4 separate regions of the Homo sapiens genome follow, and all the other regions are linked to region 1. Evidence: promoter capture Hi-C in human tissues and cell types (Jung and others, 2019). All regions are on one chromosome and are shown on one strand. The core of a region is centred on a gene start or on the middle of the fragment in contact, and the rest is flanking DNA. Distances in the headings are between cores, read along the strand shown. Region 1 holds the start of TMEM213 (transmembrane protein 213). Region 2 overlaps TRIM24 (tripartite motif containing 24). Region 3 has its middle 4.9 kb from the start of TRIM24. Region 4 has its middle 110 kb from the start of TRIM24.

The links. Contacts are between HindIII fragments. The study calls those that stand out against the background at their distance.
Region 2: a fragment that was not itself captured here is called in contact with the fragment with the promoter of TMEM213 in region 1 in 1 of the 25 tissues and cell types used here (H1 embryonic stem cells).
Region 3: a fragment that was not itself captured here is called in contact with the fragment with the promoter of TMEM213 in region 1 in 1 of the 25 tissues and cell types used here (bladder).
Region 4: a fragment that was not itself captured here is called in contact with the fragment with the promoter of TMEM213 in region 1 in 2 of the 25 tissues and cell types used here (dorsolateral prefrontal cortex and pancreas).

What each region holds. Positions count from the first base shown.
Region 1 is chr7:138,796,527-138,801,337 of GRCh38, reverse strand. TMEM213 (transmembrane protein 213) reads right to left here and starts at 3,344. Exons shown (of 3, transcript NM_001085429.2): 1 at 3,152-3,344; 2 at 1-11. The coding sequence starts at 3,233. It overlaps ATP6V0A4 (ATPase H+ transporting V0 subunit a4), which reads left to right and starts at 3,142. Exons shown (of 22, transcript NM_020632.3): 1 at 3,142-3,304. RefSeq lists a silencer at 3,080-3,374. The HindIII fragment of the contact is 6,104 bases long and covers 1-4,811 here.
Region 2 is chr7:138,482,018-138,487,378 of GRCh38, reverse strand. The region is part of intron 1 of TRIM24 (tripartite motif containing 24); the gene reads right to left. It overlaps LOC124901843 (small nucleolar RNA U13), which reads left to right and starts at 4,796; the gene lies at 4,796-4,899. The HindIII fragment of the contact is 3,434 bases long and covers 1,781-5,214 here.
Region 3 is chr7:138,452,770-138,457,960 of GRCh38, reverse strand. No RefSeq gene overlaps it. Among named protein-coding and RNA genes, the nearest start is that of TRIM24, 4.9 kb to the left of the region's middle. The HindIII fragment of the contact is 3,645 bases long and covers 590-4,234 here.
Region 4 is chr7:138,349,815-138,355,197 of GRCh38, reverse strand. No RefSeq gene overlaps it. Among named protein-coding and RNA genes, the nearest start is that of TRIM24, 110 kb to the left of the region's middle. RefSeq lists a cis regulatory region at 1,743-2,706. The HindIII fragment of the contact is 6,739 bases long and covers 565-5,383 here.

The DNA of each region.
Region 1 (4,811 bases), core at 2,095-4,594:
GCTGCTTGCTTCTGGAAGAAAAGATAGGAGATAGTCTGAGGCACTGGCAAAAGCTATTCCCAGGCATAGATTTTGAAATGTTTTTTGTAAATCAGTAGTGAGTATTATGAAAGTATTATAGAAGCTCCCGCATGGGCATATTGAGGCTTTCTGCAACAAAGCTAACTCCCTGTTATGGACCGAATTATGTTCCCCTCTCCCAAGTTTCATATATTGAAGTCCTAACCCCAATGTGATTGTATTTGGAGATGGGACATTCGAAGAGGCAGTTAAGCTTAAATGAGGTCCTATGGGTGGGCCCTAATCCAATATGGCGGGGTCCTTATAAGATGAGGAAGAGGCCAGGTGCAGTGGTTCACACCTGTAATCCCAGCATTTTGGGAGGCCGAGGTGGGCAGATCACCTGAGGTCAGGAGTTCAAGAACAGCCTGGCCAACATGATGAAACCCTGTCTCTACTAAAAATACAAAAGCAGCCGGGCGTGGTGGTGCATGCCTGTAATCCCAGCTACTTGGGAGGCTGGGGCAGCAGAATTGCTTGAACCCAGGAGGCGGAGGTTCAGTGAGCTGAGATCACACCATTGCACTCCAGCCTGGGTGACGAGTGAAACTCCGTCTAAAAAAAAAAAAAAAAGAAGAAGAAGAAGAAGAAGAAGAAGAAACATCAGCAACACACATGCACAGAGAAAAGTCCACGTGAGAACCCAGTGAGAAGGCGTCTATTTGCAACCCAAGGAGGGAGGCCTCAGGAGAAATCAAACCATCAACACCTTGATCTTGGACTTCCAGCCTCCAGAATGATGGCTGTCAAAAAAAATTAAACATCATAGAAGCAAGCCCAGAGACTGCCAGAATACGCAGCACATAGATTGATTCATGAGCAAGGAGTGGAAAGATAAAAAGGACTTTAGCATGAATTGTTAAAGTCCTGTTGTCTTGAGGTGTGGGATTGGGTTAGGGATCTGAGGCATCCAGGTTCCTGTCCATAACTGACAATAAGAAGAGAGATGACCTCTAAGTCCATACTGTTCAATACGGCAGCCACTAGCCACCTGTGGTTGTTTAAATTTATTAAAATCAAATTCAGTAAAAAAAACTCAGCTTCTTGTTTACATTAGACCCATGCCAAGGGTTCCATTGCCGCGTGTGACTAGTGGCTACCATATTGGAAGCACCACTCAGACATGGGACATTTCCACCCTCAGTGCAAGTTCTATTATTAGACAGTGCTCATGCTGACCTAGGTAGATGGAAACCAAGAGATGGATTGGAAGAACCTTCCTAGAAATTATATTGCTGTTCGTTCTGCTTCTTGGGGAATGCAAAAAGGAAAAAAAAAAAAGTGGTGGGCATGGAAACTCTCAAGGTTCCCCTGGCTGTGGGTCAGTGTGTCCTTCAAGGGAGCTTGTTGTCACAGCAGGACGAGTTCAGAAGAAACCTGCTGTTTAGCTAAAGCCATGAAGTTGCTGCTGAGACTAATTTTATGCCACCCAACCCCCAAGCCACTCCAATGTCCTGCTTAAAGTATAGTAATTGCCTCGATGCAATCTGTTACTGTAAATTATTTACAGCTAAATGGCTTAGAGCCTGGTCTTTATTTGTTTTGGAGAAACTGATTCCTCACTATTCTAATTTTCCTTATGACTCAAATAACTTCCTTGGCCCTGACTTTCATTTCACCTCTACACCTAGAATGGAAGTTGTCCTCTTCCAAAGTGAGTGGAAAAAAACCCTAGTTGGCTGAATGCTAGGGTTAGGTTCGAGCTTATGAAATTGCCATTGTTATAGGTGAAAATTGTTCAATATCAGCAATTTTCTGTGGTTCAAATGGAATAGCCCCGGTGAAAATTCCTAAGAATTTAAACATCGCCCTCCTCCCTTATAAGCAGAGCCAGAAGCGAGGGAGGGACTGGCCCTACTTGGGGCTATTCCACAAGAAAAGCTGCTGGGAAGACCCAACGATTCAGTGCAGTTAAACTTGTCTTCTGATTCTGAGCTCCCATCATAAGCAAGGCACTGTCGGGGTAAGTAGAAAGAAACTCAGCACTCTTATTTGGGGAGGGGTGAAGTTGGAAAATAAAATGAATGTGCTTACCATAATTGCTGACATTCACTGTGTGTGTTCTATGGGCTATTTCTAAGTTCTTTACATGAAATTACATCAATTCGTCTTGACAAGCACTATGATTGTCCCCATGAGATAAAGGAGGAAACTTGGCATAGAGAGGTAAAGTCATTTGCTCGAGGTCGCATAGCTAGTGAGTCATGGAAGCTGGACCTGGGTTCAGGCTCAGCGGCTCAAGAGTGCACGTCTTGAACCTCAACACCAACACCCCTGGCAGTGGCTACAGAAGAGAGTCTGAGGATGAGAGGGGCAGACACAGGACTTTGGGGGCAGGGTTGGTTTTGGGAGCAGGAGTGTTGCAGGGCATAGAGAGTGTGGTGGTGTTCTGAGGTGGCTGAGAACAAGATCAAAGCCAGGAGCAGAAGATGGTAACCAAGGTCCCTCTGCCGTGAGTTGCAGAACCCGGCCTGGCAGGGCAAGGCAGGGGATGTAGATCAGCCTTCCAGCCTCCACAGGAAAATGGGGAGATAACCCAGCATTTCCAGTGCCCGGGGAGGCAGGAGGGTGGGAGACAGTGAATGGCAGCCCTCCTGGCAGTCAGGTTTTGTGAAAGTCGCAGAGAAAGTACAAGGGGCAGGGAGGGATGGAGGACTTAGGAAAGGGAAGGTCAGACACAAATGTGCACAGGGAGGATTGCAAAGCACGACAGCCCAGTGGGGCTGAGAAGGAGCCTTCAGGACACAGCGGACCAAGAGATATCATTTTGGTCCCCTGATGGGTGAGACTCCAGCAAATAACTTTTTCCTTTCTTTGTGGCAAAGGCCAAGAGAGGTGGCTGCTCCTGCCTTAGCTGAGGAATTGAGTATCTGATCTCCGTCTCAGGCCAACCTAAGACCCCCCCTGCCCCAGCCCCACCTCCCACCCCCTGCCTAATCCTTCAGATGAGAAAGTTCTGTTTCCTCCTTCCTTTGCGCAGGACCAACCCTGGCCAAAGAATCTTCCCCCTCCTCCTTCTTTCCCTCCCACCTCTCTTCCCTCCTTCCCTCCCCCTTCCCAGCCTGGCCATGAATAAAGCTCATAACGCTACCTGCCGAGCAAGCCGAGTGGAGGGAGGCAAAGGCCAGGCTGAGGATCAGGGTGGCCCGGGTGGCAGCGGGGAGGCGCTGCATGCTGGAGGCTGTGCTGAGTGCCCGGTGCAGGTGAGCCGGTCCTGCGGAGTTGTGCCGAGTGCCTGCTGCAGGTGAGTCGACTCCCACCTGCAGGAGCTGGAAAGCAACTCTGCCAGAGGTGAACTTATGCTGGGTGTTTGGGGGAAACACCATGGGGTGGAGCAAAGGAAACTTGGCCTGTCACACCTTCTCTCACCTCTCTAGAAGGGAAGCCAAACCGTTGGCTGAGGAAGGAAGGGAGGGGCAAGCTGTGCCCTTCTCCCCTGAGCGCAAATATTGTCCTTATTGAGAAACAAGGGGAGGACAAGAGAGATCTGTGTCATGCTGGTTCCTGGGACATGAGTTTGCTGCCTCTCCCATCTGCAGGTGTAGCATGGATGCTCAATTCCATTTGGGCCAATATTCACTGAGCACCCACTATGCTGAAGTTGGGAGATACCTGCTGTCGAAGTGCGTTAATTACAAACACGCATCATTCAACCCCAGAACCGTGTTTGAGGAATGGCTTGGGAGGATAAAGCACTGTGGGTTTCAACAGTGGAGGCCACATCTGCTGATGGGATGCTTCAAGAAGAAAATGGCATTTGAGGTTGGGCATGGGGGCTCACCCTGTAGTCCCAGCACTCTGGGAGGCTGAGGCAGGTGGATCACTTGAAGTCAGGAGTTCAAGACCAGCCTGGCCAAAATGGTGAAACCCCATCTCTAATAAAAATACAAAAATTAGCCAGGTGTGGTGGTGCATGCCTGTAGTCCCAGCCACTTGGGAAGCTGAGGCAGGAAAATCGCTTGAACCCGGAAGACAGAGGTTGCAGTAAGCTGAGATGCTCCTGACCCTGCATTCCAGCTTGGCCGACAGAGGGAGACTCCATCTCCAAAAAAAAAAAAAAAAAAAAAAAGAAAATGGCATTTGGCCTGGGCCTTGAAGGATGGCTAGAATTTTGACAGGGGGAGAGGGGAAGATGGCATTATAGGTAGAGGGACAGATGAGCAAAGGTCCAGAGGTAAGGAAGTGTCAGAGGGTGGCTGTACCAGCAGCACCCAGAAGCGCAGGTGAGCCAAGGCATGTGAGGTGGGGAGGCAAGAGGAGAGCTGTGGGCTAAGCTTCTGCGTGCCTGGTAGAGGAATTTGAAACAAAGTCAGGAAGCAAAGGGGAAGGTTCTGTAGAGATTTTGAGCTGAGGAGTAACTTGACTAGAGCTCTGCATTCCGTCTAAAACATTTATTGAAGACCCACATGTATATAAAAGGTCTCATCCTAGGCACTGGAGACTGAGATGACTGAGACACGCCTCTTCCCCTTGAGAGCACAGTGCAGCAGGGAACCAAACCCGGAAGAAAGAAATTTGATGCAACCTGGCAAGACTCAAATAGGGGTACCTTCCACTGTGATGGGAATAAAAAGGAGGATGGGATGAACTCTGCCTGAGAGGTATAGGGGAAGGATTCACAGAGAAAGTGACATTTGGGCTGGGTGCTGAAGTTTGTATGTGCAGATTAGAGTTGATGGGCTTTTCAAGTCAAAGGAATAGCACCTATAAAGGCGAGGGAATCGTCTGTGTGCACACAGCCTGCCATGTGT
Region 2 (5,361 bases), core at 2,248-4,747, 310 kb after region 1:
CAACATAGTGTTGGAAGTTCTGGCCAGGGCAATCAGGCAAGAGAAAGAAATAAAGGGTATTCAATTAGCAAAAGAGGAAGTCAAATTGTCCCTGTTTGCAGATGACATGATTGTATATTTAGAAAACCCCATTGTCTCAGTCCAAAATCTCCTTAAGCTGATAAGCAACTTCAGCAAAGTCTCAGGATACAAAATCAAGGTGCAAAAATCACAAGCATTCTTATACGCCAATAACAGACAAACAGAGAGCCAAATCATGAGTGAACTCCCATTCACAATTGCTTCAAAGAGAATAAAATACCTAGGAATCCAACTTACAAGGGATGTGAAGGACCTCTTCAAGGAGAACTACAAACCACTGCTCAACAAAATAAAAGAGGACACAAACAAATGGAAGAACATTCCAGGCTCATGGATAGGAAGAATCAATATTGTGAAATTGGCCATACTGCCCAAGGTAGTTTATAGATTCAATGCCATCCCCATCAAGTTACCAATGACTGTCTTCACAGAACTGGAAAAAAACTACTTTAAAGTTCATATGGAACCATAAAAGAGCCCGCATTGCCAAGACAATCCTAAGCAAAAAGAACAAAGCTGGAGGCATCATGCTACCTGACTTCAAAGTACACTACAAGGCTACAGTAACCAAAACAGCATGGTACTGGGACCAAAACAGAGATACAGACCAGTAGGACAGAATACAGGCCTCAGAAATAACATCAGACATCTATAACCATCTGATCTTCGACAAACCTGACAAAAACAAGAAATGGGGAAAGGATTCCCTATTTAATAAATGGTTTTGGGAACACTGGCTAGCCATATGTAGAAAGCTGAAACCGGATCCCTTCCTTACACCTTATACAAAAATTAATTCAAGATGGATTAAAGACTTAAATGTTAGACCTAAAACCATAAAAACCCTAGAAGAAAACCTAGGCAATACCATTCAGGACATAGGCATGGGCAAGGACTTCATGACTAAAACACCAAAAGCAATGGCAACAAAAGCCAAAATAGACAAATGGGATCTAATTAAACTAAAGAACTTCTGCACAGCAAAAGAAACTGCCATTAGAGTGAACAGGCAACCTACAGAATGGGAAAAAATTTTTGCAATTTACCTATCTGACAAAGGGCTAATATCCAGAATCTACAAAGAATGTAAATTTACAAGAAAAAAATCAAACAACCCCATCAAAAAGTGGGCAAAGAATATGAACAGACACTTTTCAAAAGAAAACATGTATGCAGCCAACGGACACATGAAAAATGCTCATCATCACTGGTCATCAGAGAAATACAAATCAAAACCACAATGAGATACCATCTCACACCAGTTAGAATGGCGATCATTAAAAAGTCAGGAAACAACAGGTGCTGGAGAGGATGTGGAGAAATAGGAACACTTTTACACTGTTGGTGGGAGTGTAAACTGGTTTAACCATTGTGGAAGACAGTGTGGCGATTCCTCAAGGATCTAGAACTAGAAATACCATTTGACCCAGTGATCCCATTACTGGGTATATACCCAAAGGATTATAAATCATGCTACTATAAAGACATGCACATGTATGTTTATTGTGGCACTACTGACAACAGGAGAGACTTGGAACCAACCCAAATGTCCATCAGTGATAGACTGGATTAAGAAAATGTGGCGCATATACACCATGGAATACTATGCAGCCATAAAAAAGGATGAGTTCATGTCCTTTGTAGGGACATGGATGAAGCTGGAAACCATCATTCTGAGCAAACAGAAAACCAAATGCTGCATGTTCTCACTCATAGGTGGGAACTGAACAATGAGAACACTTGGACACAGGGCAGAGAACATCACACACCAGGGACTGTCATGGGGTGAGGGGATGGGGGAGGCACAGCATTAAGAGAAATACCTAATGTAAATGATGAGTTAATGGGTGCAGCAAACCAACATGGCACATGCATATATATGTAACAAACCTGCACATTGTGCACATGTACCCTAGAACTTAAAGTATAATTAAAAAAAAAAAAAGTTCTTCTCAGGATGATGAAAAAGTTCTGGAAATAGCAGTGAAAGTTACAGAACACTATGAATGTACTTAATGCCACAGAATTATATACTTGAATATGATTAAAGTAGTAAATTTTATGTTATGTATATTTTACTACTGTAAAAAAAAGTACTCAAAACATTGACAAGGCATAGTAAAATATTCCCAAATAAAAGGAAATTAATAAAATGAAACAGAACGATTAATGTATTTTTTCAAAGAAACCAATAAAATTGAAAATCCATATTGAGGAAAGAGAAAGAAATAGGGAAGGCCTATAAAATCAGCACTGGGAATGAAAAAGAAAATTCATAACGTTAGATGACACAGAGAAAGAATTACCAAGAGGTTATTATCAACTACCTATATCAATAAAATTGAAAATTTATATAAAATGTATAAATTCCTAGAAAAAAAGAAACTGTCTACCATAGTATCTCAAGTAGAATAGAGTCCTATAGATAAACCTTTACGAAAACTGAATCCAGAGTTAAAATCTTCCCACAAAGAAAGGCCCAGTCCCTGACTGCTACCATATATTCAAGAAATACTTTAATTCCAAACTTACACAGGGATTGTAAGTATCATGAAATTCCTTCAGGGAAATTAAATCAGTAGCACTCTGTAATTCATTTTATGAAGTTCGCCTAACTCTACAAAAAAATTCATAAGGGCAGTATTACAAAGAAAAACCACAGGCCAAGGTAATTCATAAACATAAAAGTAATAAACAAAGTATTAGCAAACCAAATCCTACAGCATGTGAAAAGAATAATATGCCATCACAAAGTAGACTTCTGCCTAGGAAAGTTTATTTTACTATTAGAAAATCAATTCTTAGAACTCACCACCTAACAGATTAAAGGAACAATTATGCTTTCACTAGATACATAAGAAAAAGTATATTAAAAAAAAAAAAATCTAAGGCCAGGCGTGGTGGCTCATGCCTATAATCCCAGTACTTTGGGAGGCCTAGGTGGGTGGATCACCTGAGGGTAAGAGTTCCAGACCAGTCTGACCAACATGGTGAAACACCATCTCTACTAAAAATACAAAATTAGCCAGGCATGGTGGCACATGCCTGTAATCCCAGCTACTCAGGAGGTTGAGGCAGGAGAATAACTTGAACCCGGGAGGCGGAGGTTGAGGTGAGACAAGATCGCGCCATTGCACTCCAGCCTGGGCAACAAGAGCGAAACTCCGTCTCAAAAAAAAAAAAAATCTATTTATGATCAAAAAGATACACTCACAGACACACATGCCTCTGTGAATATTAGAAAATAAATGGGGAGGTATATGGCCTAGAATTGAGGTTCAATATTATGTACTGCCTTGATTCTGGTAAAACCGGGAGGACTTTGAACAGCCTAACCACAAGTTCTCCTCCCCACTCTACTTCCACAGAGAGGGTCCCTTAACCAAATACTCTTTATCAAAGCGACCAGGCACAATTTCTGCTTATGCTTAAATATTGAGTTTCAGTTCCTTGCCAACCTATATAATTATTCAAACAAGCCAATCTCATCCTCCTGTGGGAACCAGGGGCACCCCACTTTCATGATACTACATAAAAAGGCTACCTCCCACAGTCCCTGTTTGTTTACTCCGTCCCAAGTGCAACCATCATGTGGCCCTGCCTGGCAATGTAGTGTCCTCCCCAGGGCTATACAAGTCTATGTGACTAATAAACTGTTGTCAATTTCATCTGCCCAGTGTCAGTTGTTATGTATTGGGCCAACCTCATAATCCTATGGCAGGAATCCCTCCCTCACCAATGGGAATATCTATATGCTTATAAAAGATCTATATAAAATCCTACAGCAAACTTCCTATTTAATGGTGTAATGTTGAAGCTTCCTTTCTGAGATCAGGAACAAGATAAATTTCCACTGGCTTGACTTTTATTCAACAATGGAGAATTTAGGCAGCATGATAAAGCAAGAAAAAGAAAAGGCATAAAGATTGGAAATAATAAACACTGTCATTATTCACAGATGATATGATTAGATACAAGAGAAGCCAAACAAAGCTACAGAGAACTTACTAGAATTAGAAAGATTTAACAAAGTTATTGAAAAAAAAATTTTTTAACATTTGGGTCCAGGCACAGTGGCTAATGCCTAGGATCCCAGCACTTTGGGAGGCCAAGGCCAGAGGAGTGTAGGCATTTGAGGCCAGAGGAGTGTAGGGATTTGACACCAGCCTGGGCAACAAAGTGAGACCCCCCCCGCTACAAAAATGAGGAAAAATTAGCTGAGCATGGTGGTACATGCCTGTAGTCCCAGCTACTCGAGAGGATGAGGTGGGAAGATGACTTGAGCCCAGGAGGCTGAGGCTGCAGTGATCCCTGACTGTGCCACTGCACTCCAGCCTGGGTGACAGAAGGAGACTGTGGCTCAAAAAAACAAAAACAAATTAAGACATAAAACATATTTGGGCCAGGCACAGTGGCCAAAAGCTCTCAGCATTTTGAGAGGCCAAAGTGAGAGGATCACTTGAGTCCAGGAGTTCAAGACCCACCTGGGCAACATAGTGAGACACCATCACTACAAAAAATAATAAAAAGGAAAAAAAACCCCACACATTTGTATTTATATTTACCAGGAACAAAAAGGTAGAATGAAGTTAAAATGGAATATCATTTACAGTAGCATCATAACCTATCAAGTACCTAGAAAAACTTTAAGAGAAGACTTGCAAAATCTCAATGGGAATAATTATACTTAACGAGTCGGTAAAGAAAGCATAAGATCCTTTTGTGGTTCATAAGCATGATGATCAGGTTTTCAGGCATATGTGTACGATGTGCCTCCTTCAAACTTTGTTAGGATGCTACCACGCTACCCATCTGACTTAAAGGAAAAAAATTAAGAAGCATAATAATATTCTCCCCAAAGTGATTTTTTTTATCAATTTCTCATAATCCCAATAGCCTATCATGTTTTTTTGTGAAACCTGACAGGTGGATTCTTATGTGATAATTCAAATAGCTAAAAAACAATTAGAAGATGCTTCTGAAAAATAATTACAGGTATTGGTAAGGGGTTACATAAGGACTTGCTTTGCCAGCTGTCAAAAACTACTGTAAAGAGAATGTGGGCCAAGCAGTGGTTCATGCCTGTAATCCCAAGACCAAGACAGGAGGACAATTTGAGGTCAGGAGTACGAGACCAAATTGGGCAACATAGCAAGACCCTTTTTTCTAAAAGGAAAAAAAAGTGTGGCCCTGGTGCAGGTAGTAACAAATAGATCAACAGATTAAAACTGCCTGAGAAAGAGAAATCAGACGCTAAGGAAGAAACAGACTCACGCATAC
Region 3 (5,191 bases), core at 1,163-3,662, 340 kb after region 1:
TACTGCTTTCCCATATCCATCCTGTGCTTCCGCCTAATTGGATGATGCGCTGTTTCTTGTTTCTTAACTGCACCACTACCACCACCTATGAGAGAGGAGATCAAAGCTGTCTGAACTGGAAGAGAAGGGCATCAGCAAGGAGAATAAAAGCATCAGATGCTGGCCGGGCGCAGTGGCTCATGCCTGTAATCCCAGCACTTTGGGAGGCCAAGGCAGGCGGATCAGCTGAGGTCAGGAGTTCAAGACCAGCTTGACCAACATGGAGAAACCCTGTCTCTACTAAAAACATTAAATTAGCCCGGCATGGTGTTGCATGCCTGTAATCCCAGCTACTCGGGAGACTGAGGCAGGAGAACTGCTTGAACCTGGGAGGCAGAGGTTGCAGTGAGCCAAGATCGTGCCATTGCACTCCAGCCTGGGCAACAAGAGCTAAACTCCGTCTCAAAAAAAAAAAAAAGCATTAGATGCTAGTAAGATTTCTCATCCCACCCCTCAAAAGGTGCTAGTGGGTGGAAATTCTATAACTTCCAGGGACACTTAAGAAAATCATTTTTCGGCCAGGCACAGTGGCTTGCTTAGGCCTGTGATCCCAGCACTTTGGGAGGCCGAGGCGGGCGGATCACGAGGTCAGGAGATCGAGACCATCCTGGCTAACACAGTGAAACCCCGTCTCTAATAAAAATACAAAAAATTAGCCGGGCATGGTGGTGGGCGCCTGCAGTCCCAGCTACTCAGGAGGCTGAGGCAGGAGAATGGCGTGAACCCGGGAGATGGAGCTTGCAGTGAGCCGAGATCGCACCGCTGCACTCCAGCCTGGGTGACAGGCAAGACTCCGTCTCAAAAAAAAAAAAAGGAAAAGAAAATCATTTTTCGGGACTGGGTGCGGTGGCTCACGCCTGTAATCCCAGCACTTTGGAATGCCAAGGTGGGCAGATCACCTGAGGTCAGGAGTTCGAGACCAGCCTGACCAACATGGAGAAACCCCATCTCTACCAAAAATACAAAATTATCTGGGCTTGGTGGCACATGCCTGTAATCCCAGCTACTCAGGAGGCTGAGGCAAGATAATCACTTGAACCCAGGAGGTAGAGGTTGCGGTGACCTGAGATCGCGCCATTGCACTCCAGCCTGGGCAACAAGAGTGAAACTCCATCTCAAAAAAAAAAAAGAAAGAAAAAAGAAAATCATTTTTCAGTAGAACTCTGATTGTGAGGCGTGTTTAGACATACAGGGTCTGAACTAACCCCTTCACCCAATTTCTTATAGATTTAGAGGAAGAAGGAAAAGATTCTCAGACTTCCAGAAGTAGCTGAGAGGTCTGGATGACTTGAGTCAGGATAAGGAGAATGCAATGAGTAGGCACCAAAGGCCATCTCAGACTATCTCAGTGGGGTCCATGGGGAGGCCCACAGTCAAAAGCCAATGGAAACCAAGCACAAGGGTGCACTGCTGTAGTCCTCACTTCTCAGGAAGCTGAGGTGGGAGGATCACTTGAGACCAGGAGTCTCAGGCCACAGTGCACTATAACCATGCCTGTGAATAGTCACTGCACTCCAGCCTGGGCAACATAGCGAGATTCAGTCTCTAAAAAAACGAAAACAAAACCTGTATTGTTAACCGGGTAGGGTGACCCGTGCCTGCAATACCCCCTACTCAGGAGGCAGAGGAGGGATGATCACTTGATCTCAGGAGTTTGAGGTCTGCCTTGGCCACATAGCAAGACCCAGTTTCTTAAAAACAACAACAGAAAATATTTGCAGATGTTTTATTATGGGGGGGGGGCGGGAATGGAGGCAAGTCACACTCTACATATGCCACGGTAAACCAAGAATGCCTCCCAAAACCTAATGTGTTTCCCCACATATGCCATGGCCCTCTTAAACCCTTGGACCTTCAAATCAGCGATAGATAAAAGGGAGAATGAATATGGTAGTGATTGAGTTTAGAACTTAAATGACCAAAACCACAACAAACAAAAGCAAATTATCTCAAATATGACTACATCAAATTTTCTACCATCAGGAAGATTAAAAATTTAGATAATTTTTAAAAAATTTTGTAGTCAACATAACACACTTCTTGGATGTGCAATAAAGGGTTAACTTAGCAAGCTTAGGTTACTCAAATGGTGCACATTCCAAAGAGAGGATTGACCCTTGACTCGCTCCTGGGGGGTTACTGCTGCCCTTTTGGAATATCCTGCCTGATAAGAGGAGAGCTTGAGAGTTTGGGCCATACTGTATTAATTTGACCAGAGAGTTTATGCTCGGGATGTGACCTATGGCTCACACCTGTTTTATATACGTGAGGCCCTTGGCCACTATATGTCAGTTTGATCTCTGGGAAGCTGGAAAGTGAGTAGCCAAGACCAGTCACATAGGTGCTGCATGCCTACAGGATCTCCAATAAAAAACCTGGAATCCAAGGCTTGGGTGCATTTCCCTGGTTGGCAAGACTTCATATGTCTTGTTACACATTATTGCTGGGAGAATGAAGCACTGTCTGTGGGGCTGTGCCGGAGGGAGCAACTGGAAGCTCGCTCCTGGCTTCTCCTGGACTTGGTCTATGCACCTTTTCCCTTTTGCTAATTCTAACATGTATCCTTTTTCTTTTTCTTTTTGAGACAGAGTCTTGCTCTGTTGCCCAGGCTTTAGTGCAGTGGCGCGATCTTGGCTCGCTGCAACCTCCCCCTCCCGAGTTCAAGCAATACTCCTGCCTCAGCCTCCAGAATAGCCGGGGCTACAGGCATGCACCACCACACCCGGCTAATTTTTGTATTTTTAATGGAGACAGGTTTTCTGCCATGTTGGCCAGGCTGGTCCTGAACTCCTGGCCTCAAGTGATTCACCTGCCTCGGCCTCCCAAAGTGCTGGGATTATAGGCATGAGCCACCGTGCCTGGCTTCAGGTACAGTTTATTACAGCAAAAGGATATAGATTAGGCCTGGCGCAGTGGTTCACGCCTGTAATCCCAGCACTTTGGGAGGCCAAAGAGGATGGATTACCTGAAGTCAGGAGTTCAAGACCAGCTTGGCCAAAATGGTAGAAACCTCATTTCTACTGAAAATACAAAAATTAGCCAGGTGTGGTGGCAGGCGCCTGTAATCACAGCAACTCAGGAGGCTGAGGCAGGAGTATCACTTGAACCCAGAAGGTGGGGGTTGCAGTAAGCTGAGACCTCGCCATTGCACTCCAGCCTGGGTGACGAGCAAAACTCCATCTCAAAAACAACAACAACAACAACAACAACAACAAACTGTACCTGAGAGTATAGCAACTTTTCCTGAATCTTTTGAGTCCTTTTAGCAAATTGTGGAAACTAAGGATGATCCTGGGAACCCCCTACATAAAGGACATGTAGTTTCTCCTACTAGATTGTAATTCATTTAGACTAAGAATCATTTATGCTCCTATTTCTTTTTTTTTCTTTTGAGACAGAGTCCCGCTCTGTCGCCCAGGATGGAGTGTAGTGGCACTGTCTCTGCTCACTGCAAGCTCTGCCTCCCAGGTTCACGCTATTCTCCTGCCTCAGCCTCCCGAGTAGCTGGGACTACAGGCGCCTGCCACCGCACCCGGCTAATTTTTTGTATTTTTTTTTTTTTTTAGTAGGGATGGGGTTTCACTGTGTTAGCCAGGATGGTCTCGATCTCCTGACCTCGTGATCCACTTGCCTCGGCCTCCCAAAGTGCTGGGATTACAGGCGTGAGCCACCGCACCGGGCCTATTTCTTTAATATCTCAGAAATATCATGGAGACCAAACATCTATAACTTTCTTCCTCATGCTTTGGTCCTCTCACCCTCTGTGGTATTCTCAGTATTTGCCTCAATTATATCTCCTTTCCTCAAGTATTTAGCTTTTTTGAATCTTCTACTGAAATGGAAGAGCCAGGTGCAGTGGCTCACACCTGTAATCCCAAAACTTTGGGAGGCTGAGGCAGGCAGATCATTTGAGGTCAGGAATTCAAGACCAGGCTGGCCAATATGATGAAACCCGATCTCTACTAAAAATACAAAAATTAGTTGGGCGTGGTGGTGGGTGCCTGTAATCCCAGCTACTCGGGAGGCTGAGGCACGAGAATCGCTTGAACCTGGGAGGTGGAGATTGCAGTGAGCCGAGATCGTGCCATTGCGCTCCAATTTGGGAGACAGAGCAAGACTCTGTCTCAAAAAAAAAAAAAAAAGAGAGAGAGAGAGATGGAAGGCTCAGGACAGATAATTATAGGAGATATTTCTTTCCCTCACTGCTTCCCCTCCCCAGTCTTCCCCTCCCCAGGTAAATAATGTCTTCTGAACATTTAGTGTGGAGGAAAAGAGCCAGGGAGTGGCAGTGGGGGGTGGGGGTGGGAGTGGAGGTAGGGCAAGAGAGGGGCATAGCTATTCCCCTCTCTGAAGAACAGAAGTAATGGAGTGGTAAGCTGTAACTGAATATTGACTAATGGGATTCTGGTCAACTTACCGACTCTATGGATGGGCAATCACCAGAAGGGCTCGGGCTAGACTCAAGCAGCACTGTTCTGGGAATATCGGGGCAGAGTGAATCCCTACATGTTAATGTTCTGCCTTTTCTGTGGAAGCACTTTTTACCAGGTTTTATTATGAGGGTAGGGATTGCAGAGAGGAAAAAGAGGAAAAAGGCAATGGAAAACTCAATAAAGAGTAAGCCAATAAGAGGATCAAGAGAAGGAAAAGAGGGTGAGAATGAGGAAGACAATGAGAACAAATGAAGGAAAACAAATGGAGTAAAATAATGGTTGCAGATAACATAAGAAGAAATGAAAAAGAAAAACAGAGCAACTAGGAGCTGGAAAATGAGGACATGCATCACACTCTATGAGGGGCAAATAGTGAAGAGAGCCAGGAAGTGAGTTGGATGAGTGGACCAAAGTGGGAGATTGAAAGGACTCAATGAAAATGATGACATGGTTTATTCACAGGAAATAATTTGTAAGCCAAGTATCCTAGCACAACACAACAAAAAATGCAGCAATAGCAGAAGCAATTTCTCCTTTTAAAGAAATATTTTCCTTGGAGGTAGAATTCATTGTATGCATTTGTACTTTTGAAAGTGACATTCTTGGCCAGGCGAGGTGGCTCACGCCTGTAATCCCAGCACTTTGGGAGGCCAAGGCGGGTGGATCATCTGAGGTCAGGTGTTCGAGACCAGCCCGGCCAACATGATGAAACCCCGTCT
Region 4 (5,383 bases), core at 2,685-5,184, 450 kb after region 1:
GGACTACAAGTGCACGCCTCTGCACCCAGCTATTATTTTGATTTTGTTGTTGTTGTTTTGAGATGGAGTTTACTCTTGTTGCCCAGGCTGGAATGCAATGGTGCAATCTCGGCTCACTGCAACCTCTGCTTCCTGGGTTCAAGCGATTCTCTTGCCTCAGCCTCCCAAGTTGCTGGGAATTTTTTTTTTTTTTTACTGCTTTTTATACAGTAATTGTATTGTGGGCCTGGCATGGTGGTTCACGCCTGTAATTCCAACACTTTGGAGGCTGAGGAGGGAGGATTGCTTGACTAGCCTGGAAAACATAGTAAGACCTCATCTCTACAAAAAATTAGTTGGGCACGGTGGCACACTTGTAGTCCCAGCTACTCAGGAGGCTGAGGAGGATCGCTTGAGCCTCGGATACCAAGGCTGCAGTGATCTATAATCGCACCACTGCACTCTAGCCTGGGCAACAGAGTGAGACCTTGTCTTAAAAACAAAAACAAAAACAAACTGGCCAGGTGTGGTGGCTCATGCCTGTAATCCCAGCACTTTAAGAGGCTGAGGTGGGTGGATTACTTAAGGTCAGGAGTTTGAGACCAGCCTGACCAACATGGTAAAACCCCATATCTACTAAAAATACAAAAATTAACCAGGCATGGTGGCGTGTGCCTATAGTCCCAGCTACTTGGGAGGCTGAGATGGGAGAATCACTTGAACCTGGGAGGCGGAGGTGACAGTGAGCCGAGATTGTGCCACTGCCCTCCAGTCTGGGCAACAGAGTGAGACTCCATTTCAAGAATCAATCAATCAATCAATAAATGATTAGCTGGGTGTGGTGGTATACACCTGTAGTCCCAGCTACTTGAGAAGCCAAGGTGGGAGGATCACTTTAGCCCAGGATTTGAGATTGCAGTAAGCCATGATCACACCACTGTACACCAGCCTGAGTGACACAGCAAAATCCGTTAGAAAAAAAAAAAAAAAAGCTGGCTAGGTGTGGTGGCTTAGGCCTGTAATCCCAGCACTTTGGGAGGCTGAGGTAGGTGGATCACTTGTGCTCAGGAGTTCAAGACAACCCTGGGCAACATAGTGAGATACCCATCTCTACAAAAAAATACAAAAAAATTAGCTGGGCGTGGTGGCAAGTGCCTGTAGTCCAAACTACTTGGGAGGCTGAGGTGGGAGCATCATTGCACCTGGGAGGTGGAGGTTGCAGTGAGCTATGATCTTGCCACTGTACTCCAGCCTGGGTGATTGTGTCTCAAAGAAAAACTAAAAAGCTAATGCTACCTGTTTTAGGTTTTGGATACAAAGGCACTTCGTTTTTAGGTAACAAAGTTTGTTCTTTGTTATTTTTTGTGTGTAACAATTGAGGACTGCAAGAACTGGCTCACACCTATACTCTTAGCAGTTTGGGAGGCTGAGGTGGGAGGATTGCTTGTTCAGGAGTTCCTGGGAAACATAGCAAGACCCCATCTCTATTAAAAATAAAATAAAAAATAAAAATTAGCCAGGCATGGTGGTGCATGCTTGTAGTTCTAGCTACTTGAGAGGCTGAGATGAGAGGATCACTTGAGCCTAGAATGAGGCTACAGTGAGCCATGGTCATGCCACTGCAATCCAGCCTAAGTGACAGAGCGAGATGCTGCCTCATAATATAAAATAAAATAAAATAAATAAAGCAAAATAGAGCTGTGAAAAAGTCTCCAGAAGAAGAAACACACAATTCAACCTCCACACTAAGAGAGTTAACTAATCTCCAGTAGGGCTTCTAGTGGCCAAAGGCCATGCCCCGGGATAACCCAGCCCCCCTTACATTTCTGCCTGTAAAAACTTAAGGTTGCCAAAAGAATTTACTGTTAGTTGCAGCCAAAACCTGATGATAGACCCCTGACCTCCTTTGTCTTGGACCATTTACCTTTGAAATCTTGCAATTGTAAATCCTTTCTCTGTCTTTTTGAGGTGTATATCTATTTTCTTCAACTGTGGAATATGTTTTTCAAGGACCTGGGAGCCATCCCTTTGAAATATCATTAGGAAAGATAAGGCCCCTGTCTTCCAGTCTCTGTGGAAGCGTAGGAGCCTAACTTTGATAAACACCAGTTGGTGGACAGAGATGGCCTGATCATGTCCCTTAAGGCCCTTCAGTACTTTTCCTTTAGGACACACCTGGTTTGTGTGGGTGAGGGGGAGGGCTTTGCTGCAAGAGGGCTTGCCTGGGTGGGTCTGGCTTGGGATCCTTCCTGAGGTTGCTGTCAGAGAATGGCTGGGGCTGCAACAGCATGGGGCTAGAGCCGCTGGGGCCGGCCCTCCACTCTCTCACTATCTGGCCTCTCCAGGTCTCACCATGCGACTGGGTTGGGCTAGTCCGGGCCTCAGGGTAGTTGCACTACTTATCTAGCAGTTGCAGATTTCAACAGTGAGTATTCTAGTGAGCAGGGCGGAAGCTGCAATGCCTCGTCTGATCTAACCTTGAAAGGCAATGAGTCACAAGTCAGCCTGGAGTAAAGGGGAGGAAAGTAGACCCCATTTCATCATAGGAAGAATGTGAAGGCCACATTGCAGATGAGTACAAAGGATGGGAGATAACGCTGTGACCATCTTTGAGGAATGCCGCTGGCCACAATCATCTACTTGGCCAGCATTCAGATTTAATATGTTATATATTGTCTTTTATAGCCATAAATATTAATACTTCTTTGCCCCTCCATTTTCTTTTGGAATATTAGGCTCTCTCCCTTATTTGTGGGAGTTTACAACATTTTAGGCATTTGTCCAGGGCCTATAAAGCTGGGAGAAATAGGCTGGGTGTGGTGGCTCATGTCTGTAATCCCAGCACTTTGGGAGGCCGAGGTGGGCAGATCACCTGAGGTTAGGAGTTGGAGACCAGCCTGGCCAATATGGTGAAACCCATCTCTACTAAAAAATACAAAAATTAGCCAGGTGTGGTGACGGGCGCCTGTAGTCCCAGCTACTTGGGAGGCTGAGGCAGGAGAATCACTTGAACCCGGGAGGCAGAGGTTGCAGTGAGCCGAGATCGAGCCACTGCACTCCAGCCTGGGCGACAGAGCGAGACTCCATCTCAAAAAAAAAAAAAAAGCTGGGAGAAATAGAGAAATAGGCTATCTATATACACTGATAGAAATCTGTGTCTTTGAGACCTTTCTGACTGAATTCATGCTCTGGGCCACTATGACTGCCAAATTATCTTCATTATTAGATCTAGCATTTAAGCCCAGGGACTTCATATGACTCTTAGCAGTGAATAAAACCAAACAACAATGACAAAAAAAAAAAAAAAAATTCCAGGGACACCAGCCCCTTGAGATTTTTATATTTGCCATTTTAAAAATAATGCCATTAAAAAATAAATTGTTAATAAGATATGAAAATTAAGAACATTAATTTTTCTCTCTTTGAAAATAATTACATAGAGATTAAATTAAGAAAGAGAAGATGGCCGGGTGCAGTGGCCCACGCCTGTAATCTTAGCACTTTGGGAGCCTGAAGCAGGTGGATCACTTGAGGCCAGGAGTTTGAGACCAGCCTGGCCACCTTGGTGAAACCCCATCTTTACTAAAAATAGAAAAATTAGCTGGGTGTTGTGGTGCACACCCATAGCCCCAGCTACTTGGGAGGCTGAGGCAGAAGAATCACTTGAACCCAGGAGGTGGAGGTTGCGGAGAGCCAAGATCATGCCACTGTACTCCAGCCTGGGCAACACAGCGAGACTCTGTTTCAAAAAAATAAAAATTTAAAAATTTAAAAATAACATAAAAAGGAGAAGGTGAAATTAGTAGTGTCAAGTTTGAATTTTGAAAACTCTAATTAAGAATCTCAATAATTTCTTGATAACAGACAATATTCACCCCATAAGTCTATTTAGAGAAACACAATCATGCAAAGGTAGGGTTGTTTTCAAAGATTTTAAAATTCACACCCTCTCCCACTTTTAATTATTCACAGAGTATCAGTAAGAGAGACAAAGAGATCTACCTCCACCCAGGTAAAATCCCAAATCTGAGTCTAAGAGACTTTTGGAGACTCCTAAGTCTTATAGGATTGGCAGATTTGTTTGCCTGTGTATAGCAATAAACCAATACACTGAGACAGTGGGGTTTGCAGCAGAGAAGGAGCTTAGTAATCCCAAGGCCACTGAGTGAGGAGAAAGATGGAATCCTCAAGTCTCAAATCCATCTCTCCAAGGAGTTCTGGGGAAAGGTTTTTAAGTGGATCATGGATGATGAGGGGCTGGAAAATTGGGGTCATTGATTGGTCAGGGTAAGGAGGATGAGATCATTAGGTAGAAACTGCAATCTTCCATGAGTCAGCTCCTTGCTGGGTCCTTCAGAACAGCTGACGTCAGTAGTTTTATCAGTGAGCAGAACCTAAAAGAGAAATTGAAATGGAAAGCTTACTTCACAATGTCTTAGATTTTATCTATAGAACAGAAAATGAACAGAGTCTTGTGACAAGGGCTACGTTATCCTGGGGCAGTAAGCAGCAACAAGCTACAAGGAAGTGGGCAAAAGGGCAAGCTGGCTGAATGATTACTGCTGATTATGCTGCAAGCCTAGTTGAATTTTATTTTTTTTCCCTTAATCAGTTTTATAAAATTTCCTTGGCGATGGTTTCATAGCAGATGAGTATAGCTGGAAGAGTGTTGCCCAGGCTGGAGTGCAGTGGCACGATCTCAGCTCACTGCAACCTCCACCCCCCAGGTTCAAGCCATTTTCCTGCCTCTGCCTTCCGAGTAGCTTGGATTACAGGTGTGAGCCACTGTGCCCAGCTAATTTTTGTATTTTTAGTTAAGATGGGGTTTCACCATGTTGGCCAGGCTGGTCTTGAACTCCTGACCTCAGGTGATGCAACTGCCTCGGCCTCTCTAAGTGCTGGGATTATAAGCCTGTGCCACTGCTCCTGGGCTTGGAAAAGTGTTCTTATGGAATCCTCAGGAAAATCAGTCTGTGAAGCAGTTCCATTTGATCAGAATCAGAATATGGGATGCTTGAGGGTTTTTTTTTCAATCTCCTTGAGTGTGTTTTATGTGTACTGCAATGAATGAAAGCCTAGACTGTCTATTGCAGCTATTGGATGTTCACGTCGATGGAGGTCCTGTCTTTCCCCATCTCCAATCCATCTGTGCAATTCTCTGGACAGAGAGGGTACACTTGACAGAGGGTTTTCACTTGGCACTGTACTCATGTTCTCTTTTGGCACATTTTCAGTCCTACTAGACTTAGGCTTATATTTTTTGGCAAGTGTGTTTTTCTCTAATCATTTTAGTGTTGTCTGTCACAGAGCTGAATTTGTACCATATATAATCTCTATATTTTGACTGACACAGTTTTCTACTCTAATTTTTACACATAACATCCATATGCATAAATAGTCTCTG